Regions from separate parts of the Homo sapiens genome. Here all the other regions are linked to region 3. Evidence: promoter capture Hi-C in 16 types of primary human blood cells and fetal thymus (Javierre and others, 2016). All regions are on one chromosome and are shown on one strand. Each heading gives the region's core, a stretch centred on a gene start or on the middle of the fragment in contact. The rest is flanking DNA. Distances are from core to core; before and after follow the strand shown. Region 1 overlaps LOC105370438 (a long non-coding RNA gene). Region 2 holds the start of DTD2 (D-aminoacyl-tRNA deacylase 2). Region 3 holds the start of LINC02313 (long intergenic non-protein coding RNA 2313). Region 4 holds the start of NUBPL (NUBP iron-sulfur cluster assembly factor, mitochondrial). Region 5 holds the start of LOC105370438 (a long non-coding RNA gene). Region 6 overlaps AKAP6 (A-kinase anchoring protein 6). Region 7 has its middle 25 kb from the start of AKAP6.

Evidence for each region. Contacts are between HindIII fragments. The CHiCAGO score rates a contact against its expected background, and 5 or more counts as called.
Region 1: a contact is called between a fragment that was not itself captured here and the fragment with the promoter of LINC02313 in region 3, in 3 of 17 cell types (endothelial precursors, megakaryocytes and M0 macrophages). The highest score is 5.3, in endothelial precursors.
Region 2: a contact is called between the fragment with the promoter of DTD2 here and the fragment with the promoter of LINC02313 in region 3, in 4 of 17 cell types (naive CD4 T cells, non-activated CD4 T cells, activated CD4 T cells and 1 more). The highest score is 12.0, in naive CD4 T cells.
Region 4: the fragment with the promoter of NUBPL here is called in contact with the fragment with the promoter of LINC02313 in region 3 in 1 of 17 cell types (naive CD4 T cells); the score reaches 6.2 in naive CD4 T cells.
Region 5: a fragment that was not itself captured here is called in contact with the fragment with the promoter of LINC02313 in region 3 in 2 of 17 cell types (M1 macrophages and M0 macrophages); the score reaches 6.3 in M1 macrophages.
Region 6: a fragment that was not itself captured here is called in contact with the fragment with the promoter of LINC02313 in region 3 in 1 of 17 cell types (erythroblasts); the score reaches 5.8 in erythroblasts.
Region 7: a contact is called between a fragment that was not itself captured here and the fragment with the promoter of LINC02313 in region 3, in 1 of 17 cell types (total B cells). The highest score is 6.0, in total B cells.

The regions. Positions count from the first base shown.
Region 1 is chr14:31,511,962-31,515,460 of GRCh38, forward strand. The region is part of intron 1 of LOC105370438 (a long non-coding RNA gene); the gene reads left to right. Among named protein-coding and RNA genes, the nearest start is that of GPR33, 26 kb to the left of the region's middle. The HindIII fragment of the contact is 5,890 bases long and covers 1-3,499 here.
Region 2 is chr14:31,455,618-31,458,771 of GRCh38, forward strand. It overlaps DTD2 (D-aminoacyl-tRNA deacylase 2), which reads right to left and starts at 1,889. Exons shown (of 3, transcript NM_080664.3): 1 at 1,666-1,889. The coding sequence starts at 1,776. RefSeq lists enhancers at 908-1,493, 1,494-2,079, 1,524-1,733, 1,874-2,053. The HindIII fragment of the contact is 653 bases long and covers 1,326-1,978 here.
Region 3 is chr14:31,942,957-31,946,284 of GRCh38, forward strand. It overlaps LINC02313 (long intergenic non-protein coding RNA 2313), which reads left to right and starts at 1,897. Exons shown (of 2, transcript NR_146544.1): 1 at 1,897-2,152. RefSeq lists an enhancer at 1,179-2,378. The HindIII fragment of the contact is 3,310 bases long and covers 1-2,739 here.
Region 4 is chr14:31,559,097-31,562,653 of GRCh38, forward strand. NUBPL (NUBP iron-sulfur cluster assembly factor, mitochondrial) reads left to right here and starts at 2,308. Exons shown (of 11, transcript NM_025152.3): 1 at 2,308-2,451; 2 at 2,972-3,119. The coding sequence starts at 2,344. It overlaps NUBPL-DT (NUBPL divergent transcript), which reads right to left and starts at 2,235. Exons shown (of 3, transcript XR_943720.2): 1 at 2,015-2,235. RefSeq lists enhancers at 2,151-2,550, 2,477-3,032. The HindIII fragment of the contact is 6,263 bases long and covers 1,521-3,557 here.
Region 5 is chr14:31,489,907-31,493,350 of GRCh38, forward strand. It overlaps LOC105370438 (a long non-coding RNA gene), which reads left to right and starts at 58. Exons shown (of 4, transcript XR_943723.3): 1 at 58-197. RefSeq lists an enhancer at 2,592-3,444. The HindIII fragment of the contact is 7,142 bases long and covers 1-3,444 here.
Region 6 is chr14:32,448,023-32,451,639 of GRCh38, forward strand. The region is part of intron 2 of AKAP6 (A-kinase anchoring protein 6); the gene reads left to right. Among named protein-coding and RNA genes, the nearest start is that of AKAP6, 120 kb to the left of the region's middle. The HindIII fragment of the contact is 722 bases long and covers 1,875-2,596 here.
Region 7 is chr14:32,302,920-32,306,214 of GRCh38, forward strand. No RefSeq gene overlaps it. Among named protein-coding and RNA genes, the nearest start is that of AKAP6, 25 kb to the right of the region's middle. The HindIII fragment of the contact is 207 bases long and covers 1,150-1,356 here.

The DNA.
Region 1 (3,499 bases), core at 80-2,579, 430 kb before region 3:
GTGTCTGGGCCACAGGGTACCCAGATATTTGGTCAAATTTTTTTTGGGCTATTTCTATGGAAAGTTTTTGGATAAGATTAACATACACACACACATTTATTTAGAGACAGAGTCCCATTCTGTCGCCCAGGTTGGAGTGCAGAGGCGCCATCACGGCTCACTCCAGCCTCTACATCCCGGGTTCAAGCCATCCTTCTGCGTAGCCCCCAGAGTAGCTGGGACTACAGGCTTGCACCACCACAACTGGCTAATTTTGGTATTTTTTGTAGAGACGGGTTTTTGCCATGTTGCCGAGGCTGGTCTCAAACTCCTGAGCTCAAGTGATCCACCCGCCTTAGCCTCCCAAAGTGCTGGGATTACAGGTATGAGCCACTGAACCTGGCCCAAGATCAACATTTATTTATTTATTTATTTTATTTTTTTTGAGACAGAGTCTCGCTCTTTTGCTGAGGCTGGAGTGCAGCGGCGTGATCTCAGCTCACTGCAACCTCTGCCTCCTGGGTTCAAGCGATTCTCCTGCCTCAGGCTCCCAAGTAGCTGGGATTACAGGCGTGTACCACCATGCCTGGCTAATTTTTGTGTTTTTAGTCGAGAGGAGGTTTCACCATGTTGGCCAGGCTGGTCTTGAATTCCTGGCCTGAAGTGATCCACCCACCTGGGCCTCCCAAAATGCTGGGATTACAGGCATGAGCCATGGTGCCCGACCCAAGATTGACATTTAAATCTATAGACTAAGTAAAGCAGATTGCCTTCCATAATGTGGGTGGGCCTATTCAGTTGAAAGCCTGAATAGACCAAAAAAAACGGACCCTCCTCCAAGTAAAAGAGAATTCTCCTGCTTGAGACCTTTGAACTAGGACATGGGCTTTTCCTGGTTCTCCAGCAACGTGCTCCTGTTTGGACTTAAACTGAGACATCAGCTTTGCAGATTTTAAATTTGCCAGCCTCCATAATCACTTGGGTGAATTCCCTGTAATAAATCTATCTATTGATCTACCAATCGATCCATTTATCTATCCATTCATGCATCCTATTGCTGCTGTTTCTTAATACTGTTTAAAAGAAAGCATCTAATAATCTACCAACAAATATTTATTAGGTGTCATTTTAATCCCAGTGCTCTGCTAAACAATGGAAAAAATACTAGAGTAGCATAAATCTATAGTGAATAAATCCCAGAACTACTTCAATGAATATATACTGATAAAACTAATTTATTTAAAATCAATGTTTACTTTATTAATTTATTATTAAAGAAAACAATTAAAACTGTAACTTGGAGGAAAGTGGAAAAATAAATTATAACCCCAACAGCCTAATACAACCACTGTTAGCATCTAGTGTATTTTCTTTCAGTAACTTTTCCCTTTGTGGTATTTGATGTATATAAAATATTAGTTTATGAAAAATCATGCTGTCAATTCTTTTCTTTAACATGATATCACAGGTCAGATACAGTGGCTCATGCCTGTAATCATAACACTTTGGGAGGCTGAGGTGGAAGGGATAGCTTGAGCCCAGGAGATGGAGTTCACAGTGAGCCAAGATCATGCCACTGCACTCCAGCCTGTCCAGCCTGGGTGACAGAGCGAGACTCTGTTCCAAAAAACAACAACAACAACAACCAACCAACCAACCAACCCAAACATTATATCATAAACATTTCCCCATTTGTTTCATAATCTTAAGAATTATAATTTTTAATGGCTGTACAATACATAGTCTGCAAACATATAATTTTTATAATCATTTCCTTATTTTTGGATATTTAGATTATGCAGATTTTTTCTTTTTCTTTTTTTCTTTTTTTTTTTTGAGACAGAGTTTCACCCTTTTCACCCAGGCTGGAATGCAATGGTGCGAACTCGGCTCACTGCAACCTCTGCCTCCCACGTTCAAGTGATTCTTCTGCCTCAATTCCCAAGTAGCTGGGATTACAGGCGCCCACCACCACGCCCAGCTAATTTTCGTATTTTCAGTAGAGATGGGGTTCCACCATATTGGCCAGGCTGGTCTCGAACTCCGTATCTCAGGTGATACACCCACCTCTGCCTCCCAAAGTGCTGGGATTACAGGCATGAGCCACCACGCCCAGCCGATTTTTTCTGTTTTTAAGATCATCAATATAAATATCTTTATTACAGTCTTCTCACAGTTTGAATTATTTAAGAACAAATTCCTAGAACTGGTATTATTAAATCACCAGGTATGAAGTCTATATAGTAAGTCTAAATTGTTTTTCACAAATATTATACCAATTTGTAAGGCCATTGACTTTGACCATACATTTGCCTACCTAGTATTCATTCTCACCTTCATTAATCAAAGACTTTTTTTTTTTTAAGTGGGAATGTGACTTGTTATAAAAGCCTCATTTCCTCAGACTCCCTTGCATCTAGGTACGTCCATATGACCGAGATGTGGTCTATGATGGTTACAGGGTTCCGCTATGAGACACACTTTTGTTTTATTACATAAAAGGAACATGCTCTGCTGGCACACACTTTTTCCTCTTTTCCGCTCTTCTTTCTGACTGCAGGTAGAGCAGCCTTCTTGCAACTTTGAGGATGAAAGCTACAAGTTAAAGTGGTGGAAAAGGAAGCCAGAAGGAGCTTGTGACTTTCTTGAACATCTGCACCAGCTCTGGTCTCCTTTCTCTGGAATTCTTGTTACATGAATAAATTAATATGTGTTTGGTTAAGCAACTGTAGTCATATTTCTGCTGCATGAAATCAAAGGAAAACCTAATAGTAACATATATGCATAGTTATTCTCCACAATAATGAATATTGTCACTACAATTAGTGGGGATGGGGCACTGAGTTGGTACTCTTGATTGCAAATAACAAAAAACCTAAGCTGGTTTAAAGAAAAAAGGGAATTCACTGGTCCATGTACTGGGGGAGGTAGAGGGGTTGAATTCAGGCTTCACGAAGTAGCATCAGTAACACTTTTAGGTCTGACCTCTTTCTCCCTTTCCCTTTTTCCTCTCTCTCCCTTTCACATATCTCCTTTGCTTTCCTCTGTGTGTTGATCTCTTCTCTCCTACAAAAAAATGGACTTCTTCCACGCAACTGGAGAAATTGACCATGTTGGTTGAATGTCAGGAGAAAGAAAGAACTTTACAGTTTTGATCATATCAGTCCTTGGGAAGGACTCTGATTGACCAGGCCTGTTTCACCCATTCTTGGATGTGTTCATCCAAGAAGGGACGGGGAATAGAACAACTGTGATTATCATCCCCACCAGGATCACTCAAATACAGAAGAGGCAAGTCCTCAAAGAGAAAGTGAGGTGTTGACACCATAACATAGCTGCTGAAAGGCTAAAACAACCCATCATCAATAACCATTTTTTACTAATAAAATGTTTCTTATTGTTATTTTAATTTACCTTTATTTTAAGTTGAAGACTTTTTTGTTTGTTAATTTAATTTAATTTAAAAAATTTGAAAATTCCCTCTCCTAACATTGACAACCAGAATATGCTTATACCTGAC
Region 2 (3,154 bases), core at 639-3,138, 490 kb before region 3:
GTGGCTCAGGCTGGAGTGCAGTGGCGTGATCTTGGCTCACTACAACCTCTGCCTCCCGGATTCAAGAGATTCTCCTGCCTCAGCCTCCCGAGTAGCTGGGATTACAGGTGCCCGCCACCAAGCCCGGCTAATTTTTGTATTTTTAGTAGAGACGGGATTTCAACATGTTGGCCAGGCTGGTCTCAAACTCCTGACCTCAAGTGATCCGCCGGCCTTGGCCTCCCAAAGTGCTGGGATTACCGCGCCTGGCAGGTTAATTCTTTAGATAGGATGGCAAAATAAAATAATAAAATTTCAAATAAGGAAATCAAGACCTCACAAAAAATCATGACAAAAATAAGAAATAAGAAAAGTGAATTTCTGGGAAAGGAGAGAGATAAGAATACAGGAATTTCTATGCTTATATTTCCAAATTAGCACAGGGCAACAGATTCTGATTTTAGAATAATCACCCACACATCATATAGTTCACGGGTACTATTTACAATAAGTAGGCGGGGTGCGGTGGCTCAGGCTTGTAATCCCAGCAGTTTGGGAGGCTGAGGCAGGTGGATCACCTGAGGTCAGGAGTTCCAGACAAGCCTGGCCAAAATGGCGAAACCCCGTCTCTGCTAAAAATACAAGTTAGCGTGGTAGCTTGCGCCTGTTGTCCCAGCTACTCGGGAGGCTGAGGAAGGAAAATTGCTTGAACCCGGGAGGCGGAGGTTGCAGTGAGCCGAGATCGTGCCACTGCACTCCAGCCTGGGCGACAGATCGAGAATTCATCTCAAAAAATAAAATAAAATATAAATAAATAAAATATAAAAAATAAAATAAATGTAAAATAATAACTAAAATTGTTTTAAGTAATGCTAGATCTGGGACCGAATTCAGCAGAAAAGGCGAGCGAATGAGATTTTGCTACACTGAAGTTTCTGAGTATCTACAAAAGTCTTAATTATGAACTAATTTTTTTCTTACATTTCAACGTACTCCAAAAATACGTCAGAGGCCTTAAAGAAAATTTTATTTGTTTTTGTATGCAGTGGGGGCAGGCGGTCTTAAAAAGTAAAGTATGTATGAAAGTAGAAGGAACTCATAGTGACATAAATGTTTTAAATTCTTTGGAGAAATGTGTTTGATAAGGCAACATTGTTATAAAAGTAGAGGTCTTTGTTTCTCAGTTGGAAATTGGTCAAAACTTTTAAAAGGCTTCTTGAAATAGAATTGTTTCTTAGGAAATCTCATTTCTATGCTAAGACCAAGTCAACATAGGGGGGAATTCGACGCGATCTGAGGCGTAAGTCAAAGCAGATCATGAACTCTTGCAGCAAACCTGACCTACAAGCTTGCCCCCGACCAGCATAGACCACGAGCTGCAAGGGGTCTGAGACAGTAAGGCCTGAAGTTCACCGAACTCAGTTTCAAATACCTGTGGTCCCCCCAAGAAGGGAGACACGCTCTTCCTCTCGGGTGCTACAACTGGCGCTGGGGAACGGTGATGCTGGACCGAAAAGACAAGCGCAGCCAGGCAGGCCACCGCGGCCAGCTTCAAGCTGACCCGGTATCCCCGCGGCCGGACCGCCGGTCTCAGAGGGAGACACAGAGCGGACGAGTCACCGAGACAACGCGGAAAAAACCGCCCCGCACGCCGGAGGATAACGAGAGCTGCCGGGCTGACGTTACCTCCACCCACTGGGCCGCGACGTCCCCATCGGCTGGGCGAATTTGCAGCCGGGCGTGCAGGCACTGCTGTAGGAGCGCCCGGGCCTGAGGAATCCGGCTACCCTCAGCCATGGCTTAAGCCAGCGCCGCGGCCGGACAGTTACTAGGCCATGTGTCGCTGGCCCCTCCCTCGACGCGCTGGCGGGGCAGACGAGGCGGGGCACGACGAAGGGCCTGCGCCGATTGCCCAGTGGCCCCGCCCTTAGGAGGGCGGGGCCTCGGACTGACTCTCGAATGTCCCGGATGTGCGGTCTTGGAGGCCGGCGTAGCGCTAAGCTTCTCGGCAGCACCTGCCCAACTCTGTAGAAGGCGCTCAGTGTATACTTTTATTAAACGATTGAAAAGACTCGTTAAATCTCTTTCCTACAAACCTTTTAAGAAACATTTTTCACCTCAGAAAGCTTAGGTTCCAACTGTTGAAAAATTTTAAATCTGCTTGATTTAAATTCATGTTATGCCCATATGAAAGTAAGTAAACAAATAATCGAATCATAAAGCAAGCGGAGATGGAACTAAAAGCTATATATACATCCTTCAAAATTTTCCTTATTCCAATCAATAAAAACAATGCTGCCTCCTCTATCGGGAATGCCATAAATTATTCTGATTCCACAGTTGTGAAAAGGTATTGGTATGCTATACGAATACACATTCTTTAGAAGATATCCTTGTTAAAAATGTTCTTATCCAAGAAAGTATGATTGTTAATAACTTAGCCCGCTACTAATACAAAAATAAAACAGCTTATTCTGATGCATATGACGTAAATTCTGTGATGCATTTTCTGGAAGTACATATTAGAATGTAAATAAAACTAAACAAGGGCTTGATTTTCTTTCCCATGTAACGTATTCCTTAAACATGCATCAGATTAGCATTTATTTGTCTATGGGCTTGGATGGTTTAGATGAGGAATAATAGTGTTACCCTGATTGCATTACCCAGGTCATTGATTTGGGCTCAGTTGACACAATGTGCCTATACATTCGGATCTGTTGTTTAAAAAGATGACATCACTGACAGTGTTGCTATCCATACAAAGTAGTGTGACTGAAGAAAATAGTCCATGCATAATCAACAGTCCTTTGTACACAAAATCGAAGCTGCTTGTTTGCTGGTTATCTTGCAGCCAGGTTTACACTTTTAGTAAAAACAGAAAGCAAAATCTCACATGATCTCTGATTGTTGCATTGCAGGGATTCCAACAGTTGTTGACATTTGTCTGCAAAGCACAGACAAGTTGAATTGCTTCATGTCTGCACCTTTATGTCATTATAACTACTGAGTCTCTTTTCTCTCCGGCTCTCAGATTCAGATTTTACAGGCCTGAAAGAAACTTTGACATACAAACCATTAGCTATGTCCCAGAATAAGAAAAGACTTTGGTGTCCATTTGTATGTGGCTGCAGGAAATAGGGAGGTCTATAGAGAATAGGTTATGTGGTTCGCA
Region 3 (3,328 bases), core at 647-3,146:
TGGGTCTGTTGTGAGGACAACATGTGATGATCCTGCCAAAGCTCTCTAGGCACTCTGTGCTTAGCTGTGTGGCCAATGCACAGTCAGCAGCGACACGATGCTATTTTTACTGCCTTCTTTCCCTCTTTCCCCAAGAGGACACACTCCTCTAGAAAAATAAGGTTCATGCAAACCTGCACTTTAAGAGCATTTATACAGATGTGCACGATGCAGTGCATGTGTCTTGATGGGGCTTTGTTAAATTGAATTTTAAAATTGTGTTTTAAATATACTTAGGGAAGTACAGAAAGGTACCCCAGAACAGGTTGTTTTATAAAGACAACAATAATTTCTGAATTATTTTCATTTCAGCTTTTTATATACTGTGTAGTCACAAAATGAGAGACCCTCCCCCACTCACCCCACCCTCACAGCTCCCCAGAGGAACAATAGCCATGAGCAAACAGTGCTTGCCTCCTGACCTTCGGGTGTTTCTCCTAAAGGCTAGCTCATTTAAGGGCAGCAGTCAGGGGCTTGCTACTCTTCGCAGCCCTGTTTCTTTTCTTGTGATGAGAAGAAACAAGCCCAGGCTGACAGCTGGCCAAGACTTGAACTAGAATGTTGAAGTTGAAAAGTCAAAATGGGTCTGTGTCAAAGGACTAGCAGAGGGGAAGGGACTGTCCTCCGGGGAGCTGAGGAGTGAGGATGGTCCTCACCTCGATCCAGCGATCAAATTCCCCAAGTAAATCCATGTAAAACATGAACTGTGGCCAGCACTTGTTAAGCAAGGAATATTAAAAATCATTGTCATTACTGCTGCTATTATTGTTACAGGCTTGTTCCAAGACTCTGGGTTTTGGCTCAGCTTGTCTAAATGGTCTTCCATCTTAAGGAATCAAGGGGTAGATTTTGGAACCACTAGCTCCATAGCCAAAGAAGGAGCAATCCAGCAACTTAGGCATTGATTCCGCAAGCCGTCCCAGAGCCTCTGTGTAGTCCTTACTTTCCCTAAATTGCCATGACTAGCTGGCTCAAGTTAGGCCTTTCTAATTTACCTGGACCGTTGCTGTCTCCTGTGCACGGCTGCGGGGATGAGCACCTTGTTGTGCGTTCCTCCGCTGGGCTGACGGAAATGGTTTGCAGCCAGACTGCTACGCCACGCGGTCTGGCATTTAGTCCTCAGAAATCTGATTTAGAGAACGTATACATTGCATCACAATCTAGATTTCAGAGGAAAGTTTTGGATAGAATAACCCAGACCCAAGTCTGGGTAATTTAAAGCCTGGGTGAAATGGGGCAGAAAGAGCCCAGAATATACAGGTCTGAATCTTGGCTGGGGTGATGTGGAAGACTGGAGGCGCCAGACGGCTGGCCTCCCTCCAAGTGTTTACCATGCTGGTGCCATGGGGCTGGGGCTGGGCAGTCCATGTGCTCATTCTTCCCTTCTCTTCTCCTCCTCCTCCCCCTCCATCTCTCCTCCTCCTCCTCATGTTTTCTATAGGCTAGAGAAACTCAGGAACTACTGACCCACAGGGAAGGCAAGCGGAGATATGAGACGGAGGAATCAAACGCTGCCCTGGTGGAGGACGCTGTGGGTTTACAGTGGATGATTTCCTCTGCCTATGAGATAAAAGGGCTGGCTCTGTACTTTGAACCCCAGCCTCACCCACCTCTGCCTGGGTGTGGCTCTTACTCTCTGGAAGACTTACTCAGGGGAGAGGACAGGACAGTGTGAGGCTTGAATCTCCAGGAAATAGAGTCTGTGGGCAGCCATTGACTCCGAGTCAATGAGAACAAGGTGTGCTGTTTCCTCTGTGCTGTTTCTTCCCTGCCCCACTCCCCGCCCCTTTGTCCTATGGTGCCCAGGCTGCCTGCACTGCCCAGATACCACAGGCCTTGCCAGGGACCTCCTGAGAGGTTTCTGAGGCTTGCAGCCAGTGGTCCCGTTAGTCTGCACGTCTCCGAGTTGCCCTCCCAGAGGAGAAAGCATATGCTGCTGGGACCGACTGCAGCTCCTCATGGATGCACCTGCCACCAGAAAATTGTTGTTCAGTCTGGGATTGCTTTCTCTTCCCAAAGCACAATCTCACATGCAGTCATGAGCCCAGTCCAGCCTCTGGGACAGAAGATTTCGTGCTTTTATAAACCAACAGCACTGCAGGTGCTGCACAAGGTAAGTGTCTCCCTTATTTCTTTCCCTCCCCGGAAGCCTCTGTATCAAACTAGGAGTTACCTTAATAGGGTCAAAGGAGGGTGTGGCTGTTTCACTTCCTGTTGTCAGCAGCCAAGTGTGCCTGAGGACAGAGGGTGGTGGGCAGGCATCCATTATGTGTAGGGAGGCAGGTATTGTACTGCTCTGGAACACACTGAGGAAGGGGGGTGCTCTGGCTTCCCTGACACCACCTCCCTGGTCAGGCTGCCGCAAGGCACCCAGATGTCAGTTGTCTTCCCACAACCTAATCATTCACAGCTGCTCCAGGGCCACACTTAGGATCTCTTTCCAGCGGTCCTCTTAGTCTGCCCCAGGGGCATGGCAAAGGAGGGCCTTTCATCCAGGGATCTCACACTCACAGAGACTTCACATTTGGATTTTTAAAAATTTATCTCTGAAGATATGCTAATAAGACTGAAAAGATGGAAATGATCATCAGCTTTAAACTTATGCCTGATTTTGGTACCAGGCCCATGAATTTTTAAGATTAATCCTGCCATTATCCCGTGAATAGGATGGTTATATTACCCTGTGCGTTTTTTTTTTAAAGCTTACACGTGTTAAAGCCTTAATTTATTAAATGTAAACTTCTAAAATATAGTATATCACAATTTTTGAAACCCTATTTGGGGATTTCTTCATTTTAATATACCTGAAGCCTCAGATAATGGGCGTGTCCCTGGTCTTTGTCCTCCAAGCGGCCCATTGGCCACTCCCCTCTTGATGGACTGTGGAGAGAAGCTGTTCCCTTTCCACGTGGTCATTTCAACTTCAGAAAAATCTCAGGTGCAATTGCCTGTTTCATTACAGCAGCTAGCCTATAATGAAAGAGGCCTTCGAAGCTTAGGCATGCCCAGTTTGGCCCCTTTCTTCATTTTACACACTGTTTTCTCCTCCCACAGGAAGGCTTCTCTCTACGGGGCTCAAAGCTACAGGCTCTCCACCATAGGGAAAATGGCCGACTAATATTCTTGAGTTCTTTACCCTTAGGCAATGGGGCTCAACTGTGACTGCACATTGGAATCAGTGGAGAGTTTTCCAAACATCCATCCGATGCCTGGGTTCTACCCCCACAGAACCTGATTTACTTGACCTGGGGTGTGGCCTGGGCATTGGAATTTTTTAAAGCACCCCACA
Region 4 (3,557 bases), core at 1,058-3,557, 380 kb before region 3:
CTATTTTATTGATAACAAAGTGAAATTTAGAGATGTTAAGTCAAGCCTTCAAGAGAGAGACCTCATGTCTCCTTGTCTCTGATCTTGCCCCGCTGATCCATTTCTTTTTTAACCCAGTAATCATAGTGGTATTTCTAAAACACAAATCTGATGTTACTTTCCTGCTTAAAATCCTTCTATAGTTCCCTTAGGATAAAGTCCAAATTTCTTTACAAGATATATACAGCCTTTCTTGATTTAGGCAACCTCCATCTAACCAACCTTCACTCCATCCTCATCTCTTTTAGTCACTTTGTCCTAAGTTGCACAGATCATTTACAGTTCTTAACAATCCAGAAAAGAAATGTATTTTCTACTCCTCTTGTGTTCTCTCTTCTTTTCTCTCTTCTTTCTTTTTTTATTTTTATTTTTGATATCTTTTTTATTTTTTTATTTTTATTTTTTAGTATTTATTGATCATTCTTGGGTATTTCTCGGAGCGGGGGATTTGGCAGGGTCATAGGACAATAGTGGAGGGAAGGTCAGCAGATAAACATGTGAACAAGGGTCTCTGGTTTTCCTAGGCAGAGGACCCTGCGGCCTTCCGCAGTGTTTGTGTCCCTGGGTACTTGAGATTAGGGAGTGGTGATGACTCTTAACGAGCATGCTGCCTTCAAGCATCTGTTTAACAAAGCACATCTTGCACCGCCCTTAATCCATTTAACCCTGAGTGGACACAGCACATGTTTCAGAGAGCACGGGGTTGGGGGTAAGGTTATAGATTAACAGCATCCCAAGGCAGAATAATTTTTCTTAGTACAGAACAAAATGGAGTCTCCTATGTCTACTTCTTTCTACACAGACACAGTAACAATCTGATCTCTCTTTCCTTTCCCCACATTTCCCCCTTTTCTATTCGACAAAACCGCCATCGTCATCATGGCCCGTTCTCAATGAGCTGTTGGGTACACCTCCTAGACAGGGTGGCGGCTGGGCAGAGGGGCCCCTCACTTCCCAGACGGGGTGGCCGGGCAGAGGTGACTCCACCTCCCGGACGGGGTGGCGGCCGGGCGGGGTCTGCCCCCCACCTCCCTCCGGGACGGGGCGGCTGACCGGATGGGGGCTGCCCCCCACGTCCCTCCCGGACGGGGCAGCTGGCCGGGCGGGGGCTTTTCTCTCTTCTTTCATCTTTCTTCCTTCTACTCTCTTCTTCTTTCTTCTTCCTTCTTCTTTCTTCTCCTTTTAATTTCCTCTTCCTCCTTCCTCCTTCCTTCTTTCTTCTTCTTCTGACAAGGTGTCACTCTGCTGCCCACGCTGGAGTGCAGTGGTGCAATCATAGCTCACTGCATCCTTGAACTCCTGGCTCAAGCAATCCTCTTGCTTTGGCCTCCCAAAGTGTTGGAATTACACGCGTGAGCCACCATGCCTAGCCTTAGCAGTCCATTTCTAACCTCTTTACAACAATCTCCTTGCCATTCTCCCAGCTAACTTCTACACATTATTCAGATTCAGCATTCAGCTTAGATATTACCTAATTTAGAAGCTTCCCCTGATTGAATTGAGTGCCCTTTCTTTGTATCACTTTGTCCTTTCTCCTGTATCCCTCAATGCTTTTCTCCTGTACTTATCATATTATACCGCAATTTTGTTGTTAACTTATTCTGTCTTTTGCACTGGATTATAAAGCCCTTTAGTGGAGGAATTATGTCGGTCTCAATGCTGAATATTTTAAGTCTACTGTAGTACTCGGTACATAGTAGTTGCTCAACGAATATTTGTTAAATAAATGAGTCTTAAGTCTGGAAGAACTTGCAAAGTTCTTTACCAGGTTGCTGGTAAAGCAACCTGACCTTTCTTTCAGGGAACTGTCAGCAACACAAGCCATGAATACCAACGCAAAACAGACTCTCACTGTAGATCACACGGGAAAAAATAAAATAAAAAGGTAAAATCCTTAACGGTGGTAGTATTTAAATGACCATATACTGCTTAGTAAGAAATCCTGGGGTCATTTTCAAGGTCCCCCATTTCCTACTTTTGTTAAGCTGGGTCAAGTCTCTTTAAACTTTCTCCGTTTTCTTGTCCATAAAAAGAGTATACTAGGTAAGTCTTCTGTCTACCTCGGGACTTCTGTAAGTATCATAAGAGATGTTTTATATGACAACACTTCACAAACGTTTAGTAAAACGCTGCAAAATGTTTGTAGCTGGCTATAAACAAGATCATGCAGATTGGGTTCCTGAGCCAACAAACCCAAAGAAGACCGGTTGCTAGGAAGAGAAAGCCGAGCGTTGCTCCGTGACGTCATCACTCCGCGCCACCCGCGACAGTTTCCCAGCAGGGCTCACAGCAGCGTTCCGCGTCATGGGGATTTGGCAGCGTCTGCTGCTTTTTGGTGGGGTGTCGCTCCGGGCTGGTGGCGGGGCCACTGCCCCGCTTGGGGGAAGCCGAGCGATGGTTTGTGGGCGCCAGGTCCGTGGTGCTGCAGGGCAGGGGGAAGCGGGCTGACAGATGCTGGGCTGCAGGGCCGCAGATGCCCTGGCATTGCTTCTTGCCAAAGACTCGCCTCAGTTCCTGAGACCCCCAGTGTGCTGGACGTGCCTACTTTTCAGGCAGGCCCAGGCTGAGGCGTGGCGGGACTTGAAACACAGTTAGAACGTAGATGTGGTATTCTACATTGCTTTCTTGGCTTTGGGTTATTTATCAAATAGATTGAAGAAAAGCAAAACACGTGGAAGCCTTATCTCCGTAAAGAGGCAGCGTTTTTACATTTTTAAACGTTCAGCGTATCCTGCTAGAAAAATTTCAATTTAAGCAATGTGTCTTTACAATTGTTATCAGTAGTAGTAGGTAAATGTCTCCATAGTGAAGATGAGCAGAATTAGAAAAGAAAGCCCTCTTAATTGCAAACCCCAGATTGTTTTTGCTTTTACAGTGTGATGATGGAGATGGCTTATTTAAAACGGCTTTTTATTATTATTATTTTTTAAAGTTGTCTGGCGCCGGGAGTGAGACCCTAAAACAAAGAAGAACACAAATCATGTCCCGAGGACTTCCAAAGCAGAAACCGATAGAAGGTGTTAAACAAGTTATAGTTGTGGCTTCTGGAAAGGGTGGAGTCGGAAAATCTACTACAGCAGGTATTATAGGATATTAATTCTATTCCTGATTAAGAACTTATGCCAACAGACAAGTGCACACTATTGAAATTATAGTTTTGTGTTTTAAAAATTTATTTGTGAAGTTCCTAACATGTGATTCCTTAGTTTCAGGAGTTGGTAGCGGGTAGACGCTTAGATTTTGGAGTTAGACAAAAGTAGGTACTAGCCGGGTCTCCCACCCCTTAACTCAGGAAAAAGTGGTCAGATTGTACAGCAAATCTTCAGTTCACTTAACTGTAAAATGGAGATAACTTCTTTCATAAGATGGTTATTCAAATTGCACAAGCTAACCACTTAGCTTAGTGTTTACTAGTGTTCAATAATTGGTTGCTGTTATTTTTAAAACATCTAGTAACTTTTTTTTTTTGTTTTTTTTTTTTTTTTTGAGACGGAATCTCGCTCTGTCACCCAGGCTGT
Region 5 (3,444 bases), core at 460-2,959, 450 kb before region 3:
GGAAATGGAAACAGTTTTATGTTGTTTTGATATAACCACTGTTTGAAGCAGAAATGCAGAAGCAGATGGTACTGCTGAACCAAATGTGTGAAAGGCTAGTAACTCATAGATGCATATAATTTTTAGAGTTGGAAGAGACCAAGGAGTTAAATTCATCTAACTCCCATTCTATAAGTATTTCAGATGACTGCAGTTGTGTAAGTTATTTATGAATATGATTTGTCTGCTTATAAATGTTGTGCCTGGATGACTGTCCTTAGTATACTTGTTTATGCTTGCAAAAATATGTATGTTATTATTGCCTATTTTATTGTGTAAAGTGGCCTATAAAGTGTTCTGTTGTTTTTGTTACTTTGTTTTGTTGTTGATGCTGTTTTTAAGAGACAATGTCTCTCTCTATCATCCAGGCTGGAGTGTGGTGGAGTGATCACGACTGACTGCAGTCTTGACCTCCCAGGCTTAAGTGATCTTCCCACTTCAGCCTCCCCAAGTCACTGGGACTACAGGCGTATGCCACTGCAGTGGGCTATTTTTTTATTTTTTGTAGAGACGAGGTTTCACTATCTTGCCCAGGCTGATATTGAACTCCTGGGCTCAAGTGATTCTCCTGCCTTGGCCTCCCGAAATGCTGGGATTATAGGCATGAGCCACTTCACCTGGCCAATATGTTTCTCAAATAAATCTTTTAAAAATGTAAATGCCTTTAAAGAACTTAAAAAATTTTTTTTAGAATTTTTTTTTTCAGAATTTTGATCTTTTAGGATTTCAACATTTGGGATTGTGGCCCAAACCCCTATAGGTAAGGGTTTAGCACAGTACCTGGCACATGATATGTATTAAATATATGATAGCTAATGCCAGGTGGGGTGTCAGAGCCTTGCCACAGAGAGTGATCGGCTTGAAGGTGGTAAAAAGAATTTACCAACAAAAGTATAGGTTTGAAAAGGAAAGTTGTATTAGATGGAAAGAACACTGTGGCAGAGTGCAATGGGCGGGCGCTTCGGCAAGAGAGGACTGAGGGAGCTGCAGTGGATTTTCCTTAGGGGTATTTATGGACCTTCAAGCAGGAGCTTAAGGATAATTTGGACCATATTAGTCACACAGGTAATGATAAATGATTACATTTGTAGACATTTTGGTGCTGTGACATCAGTAAGAATTGCACAGTGAGTTTTGACACGCATGCAGTCTGAAGATCTATAGAAATTCTAGTTACTTATAAGTTTTTGGGAAAGAAGCCTGGTACCAGATGCCAGCTTTAGATAGGAAGGACATCTAATTACTTCTGAATTCCTCAGATAAGGAGTTTTGCCTCCAGATGGTCTGCTTGCTGACCACCAGGTGATCTTTGCTCTCCTCAGCTAACATTAATATTATGTAAGTTGTAGTAGAGAACACCTGCAAGTCCAGTGGGCTGGAGCAAATCTCTGAGCAATGCAATTCAAGAAACATTCATTGAGTATCTATTGCATGTAAGACAGTATTTGAGACTGGGGAAAATAAAGTAAGTACTTCAAAATAATTGCCCTTAATGTTTGTAGTTATTAAAGGTGATACCTGAACTCAATAGCTTAGGGATGTTGGGGAGGGCATATTCTGGGTCTTGGAAACAGTATGCTTAAAGGCAAAGCTGAAGAGAGCAATGCTTCATTTTTCTGGCCTGGTTCTGTACTTTTCAAGGTCACTTCTCACCACCCTCCATATTCCAGCATAGTGACAGTGACAATGCAGGTGTCACTCCAGTGCTTTCTAGCCTGGCTGAAGTCACACTCACCTGGAAATCTTTAAAAACATACAAGGTGTTCCTGAGATTTCATTCATGCAATGTTTACCAAGTATTTATTGTATTTGAAGCACTATTCTTGCCACTGGGGAGAGACAGTGATAAGAGCTGTATTCTTATGGAGCTTACATTCTAGTGGGGAGAAGTGAGCATTAAACCAGTAAATAGAGGCAGATACGGTGGCTCATGCCTGTAATCCCAGCACTTTGGGGGCTGAGGAGGGTGGATCGCCTGAGGTCAGGAGTTCAAGACCAGCCTGGCCAACATAATGAAACCCCATCTTTACTAAAAATACAAAAAAAAAAAAAAAATTAACTGGGTGTTGTAATCCCAGCTACTCGAGAGGCTGAGGCAGGAGAATCGTTTGAACCCGTGAGGCAGAGGTTGCCATGAGCCGAGATCACGCCGTTGCCCTCCAGCCTGGGCAACAAGAGTGAAATTCCATCTCAAAAACAAAAAAACAAAACAAAACAAAAACAGTAAATAAACACAGAAAGAAGAGAAACATCAGCAAGCACTACAGTGCTATGCAGAATATTAAAACATAGAAATGTGAGATCATCATGGCAGATGGGAGACAGGACTAGATTGCAGCTCTAACTCGGACGGACAGAGCAGTGTGTGGAGGCTCACATCATGAATTTTAGCTCCAGAACGACTGCAGGAACAAAGCAGGAATCCCAAGAGGACCCACAGACCCTCTGAAGGAAGCAGACTGCTCCTGCAGGACCCAGGAGACACCCCAAATACTGTGAGTGCCCAAACTGCAGAAGTGGGAAAGGGAGACCCTCCTCTCCAGAACACACAACCCCACTAGGGAAAATGAACGTCTAGTTTGTGGGAAGTTTCACACCTTACCAGGAGCTGAGGCAATTTAGAGAGGCAAGTGAATTATGCAGCAGAGGAACAGGAAAGGTCCTGGGAACTTGCTGGGTCCCCAAGCAGGCCTTTCCTGCCTGGCCCCACAGGGATCCTTTTGGGAGGGCAGCCAGAGGTGTGGGGGAGTGGGGTGGGGGATGCCACAGGGAGAAGGAAGTCTCCAGCTAAACTTTGTAACAATTTGACCTGGGCAAGAAGCCTCCTGGCCAGAACTCTGGCGAGGGTGTGAATCCGGCATCCAGACTCCACAGGTGAGGGAGGAACCAAACCCTTTTCTTTTGCAGCTGGGAGGCGGGTAGCCTGGGGCAAGTTCTCAAGCCCTGCTTGCTCACTGCCTGGAAACAGACTCGTGGCTGTTAGGGATGGCACAGTGGGAATGAGAATGGCCCTTTGGATTGTGTGGGACCTGGGTGAGGCCTGTGACTGCCAGCTTTATCCCACTTCCCTGACAACCTGCATGACTCAGCAGAGGCAGCCATAATCCTTCTAGGTACACAACTCCATTGACCTGGGAACCTCGCCCCCATCTCCACAGCAGCTGCAGCAAGACCCACCCAAGCACCCAAGGAGAGTCTGAGGTCAGACGTGCCTTGTCCTGCCCCCCCCCATGGGCCTTTCCTACCCTCCCTGGTAGCTGAAGACAAAGGGAATATACTCTTGGGAGTTCTAGGACCCCACTCACTGCTGGTTCCTCTTCATATTACCACAGCTGATGCTCTCTGGAAAGCACCACCTTCCAGCCGGAGACCAACCAGCACAAAAATAGAACATTGAATGCAAAT
Region 6 (3,617 bases), core at 986-3,485, 510 kb after region 3:
TTTTCAGGGAAGGAAAAACATCTATAAATGAGGTAAAGTTGAGTGATTTTCATTTGTAGTTGGATAACAATACTTCAGTGGCAGCTTCTCTTTGTTCTCAATTGCCTGGACTAGAACCAAAATCTGGCATCCACATCTTATTACTAACTTTATAACGTGGCAATGCCTCCCTTTCCTGGGTCTCAGCTTCATCACTGTAAGCGGAGGGAACTACAGAGTACCTTCTAACCCTAACATTTCGTGACAATAACCAAGTACACCCTAAGCAAACTGTAAATTTGTTGCCAAGTTTGTGGCCTTGATCCCCAATCTATTCTTTCTGCATCTGGGTGAGGACCCTTTCTTCCTCTTAAAATTTCTCAAGTCCTTTACTCTTCTAGTAATAATTCGAGTGAGCTACCTATCCTTTATGCTTTGTTTTCCTCAAAGCACATGAATTATCTCAGTTAATCTTTAAAATAATATCTGGCCCTCTAGTGTGGGACCTGAGGTACAAAGAGGGTAATTTACTTGCCTAAAATCACACAACTACAAAGTGGTAGAGCTAGGAATAAAAACTAGGTCTTTCTAATCCTAAAGTGTGTGTTAACCTTTTTAGATTGGTAATTTTTTGAGAATATGATGAAAACTATAAACTGTCTTCTCAAGACATTGCACACATGTGCCAGTAATATTTTGCATACTATATCAAGAGACCCTTTGAAACCCATTCATGGGGGACTCCAAGTTAATACCTGTAGTATACTATATCATATTGCTTTTTCAGTTTACTTTTTTCCTGATTTCAAAATGGAAAGATCCTGAGAGAGTAAGGGAGATATTAGCAATGCATACTTAATTCTACAATCTTGATTCTACAAGGGAGATATTATTCTAAAGGGAGATATTAGCAATGCATACTTGATTCTACAATCTTGATTCTACAATGTTTAGTAAAAGATAGATACCTGGATTCTTGTTTGCATTAGGTTTCCTCACATACATGAGCATCAGCAACTTTGGGGAAGCTCTCATTCCCAGGTAGAAGATGAGATTGCAGGAGAGATCATCACCCTGACAAATTAACTCTCCAGTCTGCTCTACAATGTCCGAATTTCCTTTACCCTCTACAAAGGCTTTCTATAATTAGAAGTTAGGCATTAAAAATTAATGTCATTGGGAGAAGTAATGCATTCACTTCCATTTACATCAAGAATAAATACCAGGCTGGTGCAGTGACTCATGCCTGTAACCCCAGCACTTTGGGAGGCCGAGGTGAGTGTATTACTTGAGATCAGGAGTTTGAGACCAGCCTTGCCAATGTGGTAAAATCCTGTCTTTTCTAAAAATACAAAACAAACAAACAAAAAATTAGGCAGGCATGGAGGTGCACGCCTCTAATCCCAGCCACTCAGGAGGCTGAGGCAGGAGAATCGCTTGAACCCAGGAGGCAGAGGTTGCAGTGAGCCAAGATAGTGCCACTGCACTCCAGCCTGGGCAATGGAGCTAGACTCCATCTCAAAAAAAAAAAAAAAAAAAAGAAAAAGGAAAAGAATAAATACTTTCTTAGAAAAGATTTTTTGATGGAGAAGACAGCTCTGGTCCCATAAAGAGGGAAGGGAAATGCTTCAGAAAGAGGCCCTGCCAATCAACTGCCAGTTTTTACTTTGAGTCATATGGCCTGAGGACTGATAATCTAATTTAAGTAGAACAAATTAGATTCCAAGCAAGTAGGTAGTAACTGCTAAAATAGTGGAAGGTATTCTTGAAACTAGATTGGGGCTGTCTTCCAGAATTTATAGGGCATATTGAGATGTCCTGGCCCCTTTTCTTGATAGTGGTTAATTTAGTTCAAACTGCCTCAGAGATTTCAGAAGCACACTGAGAGCAATAAAAGCTTGATGCCTCTTTAGTGTCAGCCAGCTTTTAATGGCTGGAATGGGAGTTCTTCAAATTAGTGATAGTCAGTTGTCATGCCTACCCTCGTGCCTCCTTCTTGCCTGCTGGCTGGTTCCAGGAGTGAGGCAGAGTGGAAAGCCCCCAGGATTTGGAGATGGCAGGCCTAGTTCTGCTCCTGTTTCTGCTACTTACTAGAAGTTGGACACCAGGCAATTTAGTAATTTCTATGAACCTGAATTTCCTTAGCTGTAAATATTCACCTCTGAAGATTGTTGTAAAAATCAAGATCATTCTTTAGAAGAATTTTGAAATTTCTGATGCTACATGAAATGTTAGTAGTTCTGATTATGATTCTATCCCAATCCAAATACTGCTTGCTGATTTTGTGACTGTGGTAGGGTGAGCTGGGATGTGTGTGTGTGTGAGAGAGAGAGAGAGAGAGGGAGAGGGAGAGGGATTGATTTGTGGCAACTTATATATGCTACCAATCAAAATACACTCTTCTATAATTTGGTTTTGGTCATTAAAACACAATGAAATATAGGAAATATAGCCTCACTTAACAAGGCCTGCAAGGGGCAGGGCATATTTTGTTTGAAATTTTTAGTTAACACAATGAGATAAAAATAAGTTTGACTCTCCATTGTACTATATTTTTATTGTGTATTAGTATACTTTCTCTTTCAAAAATCAAGTGCATAGTACTGAACATACCTAAAGCTTTCTCAGGATTAATGATACTGAAGTTTTTGAAGTCATCAGTTATAATATCATTTTCACGTAAGAGTAACAGATTTGGATGTATTAAGAGATTTATACTGCAAGTTTGCTCCTTGCTTCAATATCTTTTCTTGAGGTTTCTTTTTTTCCTTCTAAAAAGTAGAAGGAGGGAGGAATCGAATTAATTGAGGGCCTTGGTTAGTTATAGTTTTACTGTTAAGAATGCTACAATTTGGGCCAATTTGGTCTTTAAGAAAGCTTCTTTAAATCCCAATATAGAAAAAATCCCTTCTATGTGAATATGTTTACTATATCATTTATAATAGTAAAATGTTGAAAATAACAAAACGAGGAAAGTGGCTTTATTATTATGTTTTATCTATCTAATATCTGGTAGTGGAAAAAATTAGTTTACTCTATTGCTTTATATTTGCAAGTGGATTGGAATTTGGAAATACTTATGAACAAACAAACATGTCTCCTACTTTGTGCAGGTCTGAAAGTCAGATTAGCCTTTAGCTAGTTTGCATGATTCATCAAGACTAAATTTTATACTGGCTGGTATACAAGAAAATAAGATATTTTGTTGCTTCAGTAATTTTGATATAATCAAAACTCATAAGAAGAAAACATGAGCTTCCTAATTACTACATATTCACTTAGTGAGTTGAATAATTTATTATCCTTTTTTAAAAAACCTGATCCTACTTTCAATGTTCCAGTTCCCATTTTCTGCTTCCTTCCATTTATTTTTCTTTCTGGCCTGTTCTGCAGAGTTTGCACAAAAGATATAGCTTTATTTGTATACAGCTATTTATTTCCTAGTATGTGGACTAGTATCTAGGAAACTTGCCAAATTAGCATAGTTATGCCAAAGTACAGAAACTATGTGTATAAAATGTGCACTTGGGCCTAATATTGCAGGCATTGCAGCTTTTTAGATAAAGCTGTCGTTGACTAATTTATTTCTGTATCTTCTAGTTGTCTCCTAGACACAAGTTGGTTGTTTTTGTTGTTGT
Region 7 (3,295 bases), core at 3-2,502, 360 kb after region 3:
TAATTTTTGCAGTTTTTAGTAGAGACAGGGTTTCACCATGTTGGCCAGGCTGGTCTTGAACTCCTAACCTCAGGTGATCCACCCACCTCAGCCTCCCAAATTGCTGGGATTACAGGCATGAGCCACTGTACCTGGCCCCTGGGCATATATCTCAAAGCAGTGAGGTATAATCATTATATGCATGTGGCATTGTAAATAATTACAGTTTTTCATACTATGCTTAAATTAGCAACATTAGCAGGTTTAGTTGGGAAATATCTTAAGGTTGAGAGCAGTTTTTAAAACATTTATTTTAAATCTTAGTGAGAAAAAACATTTGGGCTTATTAGCATCTGAGGTCAAAAGGACAGTGAGTAAATTATATAATGTTTGTTTATTGATCCTTAAGTCACTGGACTTTCAATCCACAATATCACCAGCTCCTTGTGTGGGCTACATGTGCTCTGTGAAGTGCAGTTACTTCATTAAAAGAAAAACTATTTATTTTGAAATAATTTTAGATTTACAGAAGATTTGCAAAGCTAGTACAGAGAGTTCCAAAAAACCCGTCACTCAGCTTCCTCTAAATGTTAACATGTTATGTATCCATAGTTATATTCATTTTTTTCAGTGGCTTAGGATGAACAATCATTTAGACTTAGAAAGTGATTCGTTTAAAAGAATGAGATTTTATATAGACCACACTTGAATTTAGGTCCTATATCATATTTGTTAGCAAAATTAAGCAATTCCAGGCAAGTTACTTTTCTGTAAAAATGGGGTGCCATCTTTCTTACTAGGTCCTAGTGGGGATTAAACATACATGGAATCATCTTGTAAGGTTTTGTGTACTATAAGGTACACAGTAGACGCTTAGTAAATGTTCATTTCTTCTTCCCTCTCCCTCTCTCACCATTCTTTTTTTTTTTTTTTTTTTTGAGCAAACACGACAATGGACGTTCTTTTTGCTCCCTTCTATCCCTTCCTTCTCTCCTTTCTTTCTTCATATCATTGGACAATGTTACTTTTTTCTAGGCTTTTGGTTTCTGCTTTTGTATCTGTCCCCAACCATACTGCTTTGTCAGTCCTCCAGTTCCAGCACTTTCTGATGCTGAGTGAAGAGATGACCTTTTTGACCTGTTTCTCAGCCTCTTGCTGATTTAGCCTGAAAGCTTCAATGTTCATCAACCTGAGTCTGAAGTACAAAATGTTTCCACATCAGTAACAAGGACACAGAGTAGTTGTAAGGAAGAAAATGAAACCAACTATAGGTTGCAAAATATGTGACTGTAGGGGCACCCAGACAAGAATATAAACTCTGAAAGACAACTCAAGCCCCCCTACACTTTAACACTGGAAGGGATCCCTAGTACATGAAGCTTAAGATCCTTTATATAAATAATCAAAATTTTAGCCGGTGGGACTCAGATCCTTAATGGGCTAATCTACTCTTGTCATTTACTCTGACAAATGTCCACAGGGAAGGGAAACAGTACAATACTGGCACCATTTCACCTCTCAACAAAAATCTGCTTAAAACCAGATGCCTAGTGGCCATATGACAGACGTTCCACCCTGAGGAGGAGGCTCCCCTCAGGGATCCAGGAGAGACAGGGGTGATTATGCTGCACGCCTGCTTCCAAGCATAATAGGCAGACAGGGAGGGAGAGATGGAGCCCTGAACATCTTGGAGGTGACACCCTCTGGGCCACAAGTACTCCATACAGGATTTAGCACAGCTCAGCAGCTGTCCCATGGTGGCAGCCCTTTCTGCCATATGGGGGGAGCAAGATTGGGCATGGAATTGGCATCCCCAGGCTGGTACAAACACCATTGTGTATGTGAAAATGTGGGTCAGAGGCCTGATTTGAGAGTGAGGGAGGAAAAGGGGGGAGAATAGGTACTGTCAATAATTCCCAGTGGTTCTTTAAAAAAATTTTTTTTAATTCAAGGACTAGTCATTCTGGTCCCTAAGTCACAATAGAAGAGAGGGGTGAGTGTTACTTTGCCATCATCAAGGGCTACAATAAGGAAAAACAATAATCAGTGTCAGGATGACAAGGAGTTTCACTAAGAGGAAATGTTTGCCCATGGTGGGTTTGTTCAGAAGTCTACCAGGAATCGTTGGAAAGATCACCAAATGAAAACTCCACCATTTAGTAAAGAAAATGGAAGCTGGATGTGAGGAAAGTAGGATTTCTGTAACAGCCACATGTTCAAATGTGTAGCAGGGCAGGAAGTAGGGTGCTGAGGCCTGAAAGTATCCTTGACTGTGGAAGCTGTGGCTGGGCCAGGAGGACCAGAAGGCTCCTTCTTTTACTGAGTGATGCTGGCAGCGGAGGGGGAGAAAAGGGGCAATCAGGGACCTATTTTTTTATGGTTAGAGATTAAGTCATTAGCATTAAAACATATTGGGTATTTGAACTTTGTAGGGTGGTAGAAATATAATCATTTTGACTAAGGGCTCAGTGTTAGGAATATTTGAGTTTGTGGAAATATAATTTGTTGTCTTTTATTTTAGAAGAAAAACACTAACATGTCATATCAGTACAGCCATATGACCTAGTGGAAAAATGGCTGAGAAACAACAAACTTGATTTGTGGTCTAGATTCTTCACTGATTTAGTTTTTTTATCCATCACTGGGATGACAATAACAGCTACTTAGCCATGTGCCAGGTACTTCCTATGTATTAGCTCATTTAATCCTCCAGAAAGCCTTTGATACAGGTGCTCTTATCATCCTCTTTATTTTATAGTGAAGGAGGTGAGCCCTGAGTTAAGTAACTTACCCAGTGTCATATAGCTAATGAATGATAGAGCTGCCTTCGGATCCTAGGTTGCCTGGCTCCAGAGCCTATATGTTCAACTTTCATATGATACTGTCCACTCTATTTACCTAAGAGAGTGTGGCAAAGATAAAATTAGGTAATAGAAAGGAACAGGCTAGTTTTGAGATGGCTACCAGACTTGAAAGAGCCCACCCCTTGGAGCCTGAAAAAGCTTACCATCTTCCTGTAACTAGCTGCAAATTATTTAATTTTATAATTTTTTAAATCTTAGATGGGAATGGTAATACTTATTTTGCTGGTTGCTCAAAAAACACTATAGCGTTAAATTTGTAGTAGGAACTCAAAAATTGGTGGCTATCATTGTTTGCTCCTGTTTTCATATATCAGTCTTGAGAACCAGGGCCACATGTATATTTTGGTATCCAATTTTAGTTATAATGGGACTGAGCACAAAGCTGTCATTCAACTATTAATAATAATGGCTAATGGCTAATGCTTACTGGGGGCTTCCCGTGGGCCAGGTGC